Linked DNA regions of Homo sapiens: region 2 is linked to region 1. The links are contacts of gene promoters, found by promoter capture Hi-C in human tissues and cell types (Jung and others, 2019). All regions are on one chromosome and are shown on one strand. The core of a region is centred on a gene start or on the middle of the fragment in contact, and the rest is flanking DNA. Distances in the headings are between cores, read along the strand shown. Region 1 holds the start of SAMM50 (SAMM50 sorting and assembly machinery component). Region 2 holds the start of SCUBE1-AS1 (SCUBE1 antisense RNA 1).

Region 1 (4,287 bases), core at 802-3,301:
GGAGATTGCACCATTGCACTCCAGCCTGGGCAACACAGTGAGACTCCATCTCAAAAGAAATGTAGTTACAATTAACCATTAATCAAGTTGCCTTTTTTTTTTCAAGAGCACAAATCCACATTGATTTATTGACTTTTCATTAGTTTAAATCCTTGAGGGGTACAGCATTACTCGGATTCTGTGTCCAACAGCCTTAGCAGGAAGATTGCTTCAGAATTTGGCACGAATCATGCCATTGTTTCTGTGGGCCCGAGTTACCTTTCCCCAGATTACTCTGGCTTTGTTTGATTTGCCGCCAGGAGTCACTATGTTGTTCTTTGCTTTGTATACATGAGCCCAAATAGAATTCTGTTTCATCTCGGGCATAAACACCTTCAATTTTAAGAAGAGCTGTGTGCTCCCTTTGGTTCCGGAGACTCCACTTATAGCCAGCAAAAATGGCCTTGGACCACAGCCTTCCAGACATATTTCCTTTCAGAAGTCCTGCTCCCGGCAGGCCGCCACAGGAGCCAAGATGGCAGGAAGAGCTCAGGTTGCACTCTGACCTACTTGCTAGTAACCAAAAGTCACAGATACTATTTGCATCCCCATTGATTTTACAGATAGGATTTCTAAAATTAGAATCATAAGGCTTTTGCTTAAGAGTTGCTTTAGATGTTTTTCAGATCTCGAATTCCAGCAAAACTGATGCTGCCAACCAGTTTGAAGACTCCTCCCCGCAACAGAGGAACGGAATCAGCATGAGAAGTTTCCTCATCTCCCTGTCCCATAACTTCACCCTTCACTCTTCCACCAATCAAGGATCTCCACACTTCAGCAAAAACATGAGGTCCAAACTCCTGAAGGAGATGGATTTGAGGTTTCCTCTCTTTTCCCATCTCCTCGTTCAGCGGCCCTGCAACTGAAACTCTTTCTCTGCTGCAACCCACTGTCTGAGTGTATTGACTTATCGAGCACACTGAGCAACAGACCTATTACAGTTACACAAAGAGATGTCAGAAGAGAAACGGTGTTTGATCTGAATGAAAGACATATAAAGGGAAGTTAAGTCCAATTATCGATGTCAGGCTGCGACTTCTGTGCTAAATTTTTTTGGAAGTTAATGGGGAACTACTGAAAACGTCTATGCAGGTCAAGTGAAGCAATCAAAGTTGCAGTAGAAAAGTAGTGTTGGGGCTGAGACTCAGGAAATCTGAGGTTTTAGGCCATTTGGAACCAGTAACTATGTGACCTTGGAGAAGTAACTCATTATCTGGCCCTTATTTAAGATTAGGATAAACGAGAGGAGTTTGGCAACCAGTACAGTTAGTCAGGCGCCAGGCACCCAAGTATTCACATGCATTGTCTTTTAATTCTCTTTTAAGCCAGGCGAGGTAGGTACTATTACTACCTCCACTTTAAAACAGGAAGTAAGGCAGAGAGCGGTTCCGTCTTTTGCACGGTAGACAGGAGAAAAGAGGACCCCTAGATAGGTTTGAGTTAGAAGACTTCAAAGGATTCTTGTTGCTCTAGGAGCCTACAATGGCTCCAGCAGCGGCTGAGCGGGGAAAGGCTGGAAGTGACCAGTAAAGAGAGAAAACTTAAAATCATGCAAAGAAAGAGCACATTCACTGCGGTCTAAGACATCACAGAAAGTTGGCAAGTCCTTTGGGCCACGGACTCGCCGAGTGACCTTTAGCCAAGTCTCGTCCCTCCTATCAGGTTCCTGCTCGAAGGTCTGCAAGACTCGCTGGCCCGAGGCGACCTCTTTTCGGCCTCCTCCACCCAGCCCGGCACCCTTGGCACCCTCTCTCCCGGTGAACCCTGGGCGCAGCCACGAGAGCGTCTCCCCGCGGCGCCCGTCTGCCCTGCTGGCCCAGAGGCCTCGCAGCCCGCGGGTCGCTGGGCCTCTTACCCGGGCGTGCACAGTCCCCATGGTTCCCTCTCCAGCCGCTGCCTCGCAGAGCTGCCCGGGCGGGACAGAGCGTCTGCTGCTGAGGGCAGAAGGCGGGTCCGCGGTGGCGGAGCTGCAGGTCAAGGCAACTCCCACAAACCCCCGGACGCGGAACACTGGGGGCGGCCATGATTCCCCGCCTTCTCCGCGCCCCCTGGCTCGCGATGCCTTCGCTCATTGGTCCTTATGCGCCTGTGACCCGGATGTTCACACGGCCGCGGAGGACGTTCTGACTGCGCAAGCGAAGAGCGTTCACTGACATCCGCGAAGCTGCTGGCGCGTGGACTGTGTGGGGAGGGCGCGTGGGGTGAAGGTGGGTCTGCGAGAGGGTCCGCTGGGAGGCTGGCGTCTGGCGTTGGCGCCTGAAAGAGATCAGACCAGCTGTTGGGTGTCACTCAAGTCCTGCTGCTCTTAGCCCTCCTAGCACCCCCGACCCGAGGGTGCTGTGCTTGTGCCCACGCGCCGGTGAAGCCCCGAGACTCAGCGGGGAGACCCCGGGTCCGGCCACCCCCGAGCTGCAGTAGTCGGGTCTCACCGGCATCTGCTACACAAACCCGGATTGGTGCCCTGGCTCCTTTCGTTCAAGTCATTGGAACCCCCACTCAAAATCGTCAAAATGAAGACGATGGTCGTGTCTCCTTCTTGGGGGTTGGATTAAAAGGGCCTAATGTGAGAGACGGAAAGCAAAGCTCCCGGCACCGGGCCGGGCACACGGTGGGCGCTAGATAATGACCGCTATTCACTCAACTGCAGCCAGTAATTATGGGCGAGGGCCATCTAGGTGCTTGCATGAGAACCAGTCATATCGGTGAAGAAGACGGCCATGGGCTTAGGTTTTGGTGGCAAAACAGCTCCCCTGCCCCAAAAAAGAAAAGAGAATAGAAAAGAAAAAGGCATAATAAATATCAGCCACACATTGTGATAAGTATATTGAAAGAAACGAGACAGAATAAGAAAAGAGGAAGCTTCAGTATCCTGTCACGTTGCCACTCCCTTCTGATAACAGAAGCATCTTTTCTTCTGTCCCCTTACTCCCTCCCAGAAACCCTGACACCCTTTCCATTTAAATAGCAGCACCCTAGGCCTCCAACATCCCTGAGCTAAATATTCAAGTCCACATGTCCCTTCTTGCCTGGAAAGAGACAGAACCCAGCACCAGCCAGGCCCCTGCCCTTCCCTCACTCTCAGTTCCCTGAGCCTCAATTCCTTATCTGTAAAATGGAAATGATAGCCTAAGGCATAAGGTCTGAGGACCTCATGAGATCAAGCATGGGGCCTGGCACTCTGTAAACATCGAATCAACCAGATTTTCTTTGCCCAAACAGCCCTCTTTTCTTACACTTTCTTCCTCGTTATTCTTCTGAGTATGCCACTTGTAAAGGATAAGCCATGAGGTTGCCCTGCAGAGTGCAAGATGGTTGCAATATTTGAGAGCCTATTGTGTGTGAGGCCCTGGAGGATGGCAGAGGGAACAGGAGGAAAACAAAGTCACATGCTTTACCCTCAAACAAAGGGCTGTCTGCGATAGTTACAATGTATATATTAAAGGCTATCTGTGATAGTTACAATGTATATAATATATTAAAGGCTGTCTGTGGTAGTTAACAATGTGTATATTAAAGGCTGTGATAGTTACAATGGGTATACTATATTAAAGGCGGTGGTAGTTACAATGTATATAATATATTAAAGGCTGTGATAGTTACAATGTACATAATATATTAAAGGCTGTGATAGTTATAATGTATATATTAAAGGCTGTCTGTGATGGTTATAATGTATATAATATATTGAAGGCTGTCTGTGATGGTTATAATGTATATAATATACTGAAGGCTGTCTGTGATAGTTAAGATGTATATATTAAAGGCTGTCTGTGATGGTTACAATGTATATAATAAAGACTGAGAAGTCTCACAGTGCATATACTGGTTTCCTTCTCTTTAACCCAGTATTTCTTGAATTTATTGGGTCATAGAGATTTTTGGTTTTGGAGATTTTTCTGTGGCCTCTGGCAATGCTATTCAACAGTATTTCTTGTGCTCCTCTTTTGGGCACAAGAGAGGATTGCATCTCCCTGCTCCCATCCATGTGACTTGCTTTGGTCAACACATTGTGAGCAGAAGAGAGATGTGCCACTCTGGATGAGAACCTTTAAGAACCATATTTCTCTAACCATGCCATGGCAATCAGCGATCCCCCAATGGTGGGGCACCTACAGGCTAGGTCTGGGAGTGAGGACGACTTAAAATGAAGCCCAGCCACATTTGCTGGACATACAGCACGAATGAGAAATAAACCTTTTGGGTTTTGCTTGTTAATGCAGCATAACTCAGCCTATCCTATATGATAAT
Region 2 (4,287 bases), core at 664-3,163, 680 kb after region 1:
TCACAGTTCTGGAGGCTTGGAAGTCCAAGATCAAGACTCTGGCAGATTCACTGTCTGGTGAGGGCTGCCGCAATAGGGGTTCAGTTTCAACATCATTTTGGAGGGGACACAATCATGCAGACCGTAGCACATGCTTACTCTGTGGTGGGCTTAAAAATAAAGGTTTCTTTCCTGCTGGCACTCAGCCTCCTAAGTGGTTGGAGGTGAGGCCCTGCACAGCATATGCACCGAGGCGGCCACTGTCAGAAGCACTGCCAGAGAGCAAGCCCACCCTGCCTCTGGGGCCTGAGCCCCCTGTTCCAAGTCCACAGCTGTCTCAGGACTGGCTGGGGGCTCCTTGACAAAGGTTACCTGAGAGTTTTAGGGTACAGGTTTCCTGGGGTTGAGCCAGAGCAGAGACCTAGTGTTTCTCCCCAGCAGCGTCTGGGGCAGCCTGTATCTGAAACCCTTGCCCTTAGCCTCTTTCCCACCCCAGACTCTAGTCCTGGGCCCTCCCAAGAGCCTCTTCCAGGCTGGTCCTCGAGCTTCCTCTTGACTCTGTCTTCCACTCTGCCTCTCCCACTCTGGCTTGTCTGTGGCCTGCAGGCTGACTGGACACTGTCCTTCCCCCAAACCTGTCTCAGCCCACAGGTGTCCTCAGGAGGCCCAGCCCCACCCTCCCGCAGCTCAGGTGTCCTCGACAGGCCCAGCTCCACCCTCCTGGAGCTTTGCTGTGGTTTCCATACAGGGTCGCCTGATGCTCACAGCCACCCTGTGACATGCTTTGGATAAGTACTAATGTCCCCATCATGGGAGGGAAAACTGAGCTTCCCTGAGCTGCACTGGGGGGGCAGGACTTCAGGATCAGGGGCTGGATTCTGAGGCCAATGTCAGTTCTTTTTGCCCTGCACCATCCACTTGCAGACTCAAAGAAACAAGCCAATGGACAGAGACCCATGGGCCCTCCTGAGCCACCTCAGCCACATATTGATAGGATCCTATCAGTGTGCCTAGCTGTCAGGTTCCTATTGGCTCCTGGGACGGGATTCCTATAGGATCTGGGCCAGGCCTTGACCTGAGGGGCCCTAGCACGGCTCCTGCAGGGCCAGAGACATCCCCTGCCCTGTTCCAGGGCTTTCCATTATCAACTGTGAGTGCTGGGGCAGCACGGCTAGGAACTTCCTGTTTAAAGAGAGGGTGTGGCCATGCCTCCGAATCCCATCCCAGCCTCAGCACCTGCCTTCTTCAGCCACTCCTTGGAGAAGATCAGCCAGGCAAGGGCGCCAGGCAGGACATGTGGGGTTGCAGGTTCTCCTCGCTCCCTTGCCTGCTGCAGACCAGGTGGACAGGAGAATAAACAGCTCCCTTGCTTACTGGAGAGATTTATGGTGCTACCGGAGGAGGCCTGTCCTGGCCCTGTGCGGTCCGGAATGGCCCTCAAGGTGGGGACAATAAATCCAGCCCATTATTTTTTATGAGCCTCCCACTCCATAAACAACTCTTTCGGCTGGTAAGCCCAGCTTCACGCCCCTCTCCTGGCCTGGCCTTGAGCCGGCGCCAGGGGCACCCCCAGTACTGACTTCACATCAGTGGTATAAATTTCCCCTAAGCTGCAGAACTTTCAAATCTCCCAGAGTTGTGGGTGCAGGGCAGGGAGAGCTGCAACCCAGAGGGCTAGGCCAACAGGTAGCTTGCCCAGCCCTGGCGTCCTTCTCTGCCACAAGTCCTGGGGCAAACATTCATATATTTTATGACAGAATTGTTTACGAGAATTAAAATGAGATCGTATATACAAGACATCGCCTCATGTAGAGCCCGGTCCAGATCACTAGAACTGTGCAAAGCTGTCATACGCATCATAGCTGAGCATAGTGCATAGACTCTGACACGAGTCATCAGATCCTGAGAACAGTCTGTGTCATGTAGCTACCCCATTTTGCAGGTGAGCAAATGGAGGCTGAAAAGCAAAGAGACTTGTCCGTAGTGAAGAAGTAGCAAAGCCAAGATTTGCACCCAGGCCCAACCGCCTCCTAAGATCAAAGACACTTGATGAACCAATGGATGGGGGGCCAGGGGCAGGGGTGCTGTGCAGCCCAGATGCCCTGTGACACAAGGAGCCCCTGTCTCGCCATGCTGCCCTCTGCCTAGGGCTGCGCTGCCGTCTTTTGCCTGAGTTAGTGCGGCAGCTGCCTCACAGGCCTCCCTGCCCCGCAAGCCTTCTGGTAGCAGCCAGAACCACTGCTCTGCCCAACCCTCTGGCTCTGTCATTCCCCACTCAAGACCTTCCCATGGCTCCTGAGAGGAATGTGGTTCTCTGCAGCCTGTCCTTGCTTGGCATGTCATGAACCAGCCATAGTGAACTTCTCATCCCGGCCTCTGCCCACACAGCTCCCTCTGTCTGGAACTCCCGCTCATCCTGACTGACCATCGCTCACTGAGAACCCTCTACACCTTTTCCCCGCACACCTCCTGATCCCCCAGGTGGAACCTACGCATCCCTGCCTCTGTCTCATTCGGCCTCCACCCTCAGCCTCCCTGCCCTGTCTCTCATGTCTCTGCTCCCGGGCCTTTCTCCCCCAAGTGAGGATATGCCCTTGGACACAAGGACCCGCTGGCCCCCCAGTGTCCAGCCTGGGGTCTGTAGGGAGCAGGCAGTCAGGAAAAGCTGAGGCGAGGTCATGGAGTTGACGTGCGTGAGAACCGAAAGCATGCTGCCCTGGAGGGAAGCTGGCCTGCACGCCTGTTCTAGAGTGAAGTAGCAGAGGCCCTGGAAACACCATGTGTCCTGTCAGAGGTCACTTAGCATGTTGGGGGCAGAGCTGGAACTTGTCCCAGGCCCCTAGGCTCCAGACCAGTGCCCACCCCCTACACCGTAGCCCACAGCCTGGCTTCCCACCTGGGGTTTGTGGGCACAGGCCCTACGCATGGAAAGTCATGCAGATCTGGAGTGTGGGTTCGGAAACCACCGGGCAGATGCCTGGTTGGCAGAGTGGGGAAGCAGCCGAGGTCATCCTGGGTCATTAGGGAGTGGTGTGAGCCCTCCCTAGCCTCATTAGGGAAATTGGGTTGTGACTGTGGCCACAAGGCCAATCTCCTGGTGGGACGTCTGCCTGGCCACCCCTGGCCGCAGCATTCCCCAGGTCCTCGTCACCCGCCTGAGGCCAGCCAGGTGGGTTTTTGTCTCCCGGCCTGGTGGCTGCTTGATTATGTCACCAGACTCTTTCAGCATGTACGTCCCATGGGACTTCTTCCCTTCCTCCTCAGCCCCCGATCCTGGCTCCTCCTCTGCCTCAGCCCTCTCCTAGCTCTCCCCTAAGCTTCTTGAGTCTCCTTGCTGACCAGCAGTGGCCACTTCTCCAGCTCTGACCCCAGTACCAACTGTCCCCTAGACGGGGACCCCAGCTACAGAATTCCCACCTGCCCAAAACCAAACGCAGCATCTTCCCATCCTCCCAGACCTGTGCTTCCTAGCGCGTCCCCCATCAGTGGGGCACCAGCGCTGGGGTGCTGCCTTCACCCTTCCCCTGTGTGGCTCCCACATCCTAGTGTGACCGGATCCCACGTCCGAGCTCTACTCACCTCCCAAACCCAGCCAGCTTCCTCACCCCTGTTGCCCTGCCTTCTTCAAAGGTTGTGGTTGCTAATTGGTGTCCCTACCTCCGCCTCATCCCCCTTCCCTCCTGCATCCTGCAGCCGGGGCGCTTTCTCCGCCCCCCTCCGAGTTCCTCCATTGTCAGGCACTGCTGCCTTCCTGCCTCCCAAGGCCTCCCACAGTCCAGTTCCTCTCTCCTGGTTCCTCCCCATCTGCCTGTTGTTCTCCCTGTTACGGCACACGTGCCCTTTACTGATTACAACCTCGGTATGTGTCATCCTCTGCCTTTACTGCCATTTCCCATTCCCCTCCCTTCCTGGAGAACTCTTAGTCATCCATCAAAACCCAGCGCACTTTCACCTCCTCTCTGAAGCTGTCTCTGACTCTTAGGCAGGCGTGCACGTCTTCCTCTTTACTTGCACTCATGTGTTTGAAATGGTTCAGCCCTCTACTGCAGGACCAGTCCATGAGCTCCCAAGAAGGGCAGGGATGTGTTTAAGTCATCCTTGTGTTTCTCACGTCTCACACAGGGCAGGGTGCAGAGGAAAACATGCCGCATGGGAGTGTAGAGGAGATGAGACCATCTCATGAGGGACTCATGCCCGAAGTGTGTGCATCATCCGTTCACAAAGTGCCTTCACACCCCTCGTGCAGAGCAGTGTGCCCAGCCCACCGCCAGGAGAGGGACGCCCAGCGCGTCGTGGTTTGCTGGGTCC

The links. The method cuts DNA at HindIII sites, captures the fragments that hold promoters and counts their contacts. A contact is called where the count stands out against the background at its distance.
Region 2: a contact is called between a fragment that was not itself captured here and the fragment with the promoter of SAMM50 in region 1, in 1 of the 25 tissues and cell types used here (lymphoblastoid cells).

What each region holds. Positions count from the first base shown.
Region 1 is chr22:43,953,206-43,957,492 of GRCh38, reverse strand. SAMM50 (SAMM50 sorting and assembly machinery component) reads right to left here and starts at 2,051. Exons shown (of 15, transcript NM_015380.5): 1 at 1,895-2,051. The coding sequence starts at 1,915. It also overlaps the pseudogene RPL35AP36. RefSeq lists enhancers at 1,307-1,516, 1,322-2,073, 2,197-2,276, 2,357-2,406, 2,074-2,826 and a silencer at 1,959-2,233. The HindIII fragment of the contact is 14,031 bases long and covers 1-4,287 here.
Region 2 is chr22:43,275,283-43,279,569 of GRCh38, reverse strand. All of the region lies in intron 4 of SCUBE1 (signal peptide, CUB domain and EGF like domain containing 1), which reads left to right. It overlaps SCUBE1-AS1 (SCUBE1 antisense RNA 1), which reads right to left and starts at 3,628. Exons shown (of 2, transcript NR_134582.1): 1 at 3,559-3,628. RefSeq lists an enhancer at 1,350-1,850. The HindIII fragment of the contact is 5,790 bases long and covers 1-4,287 here.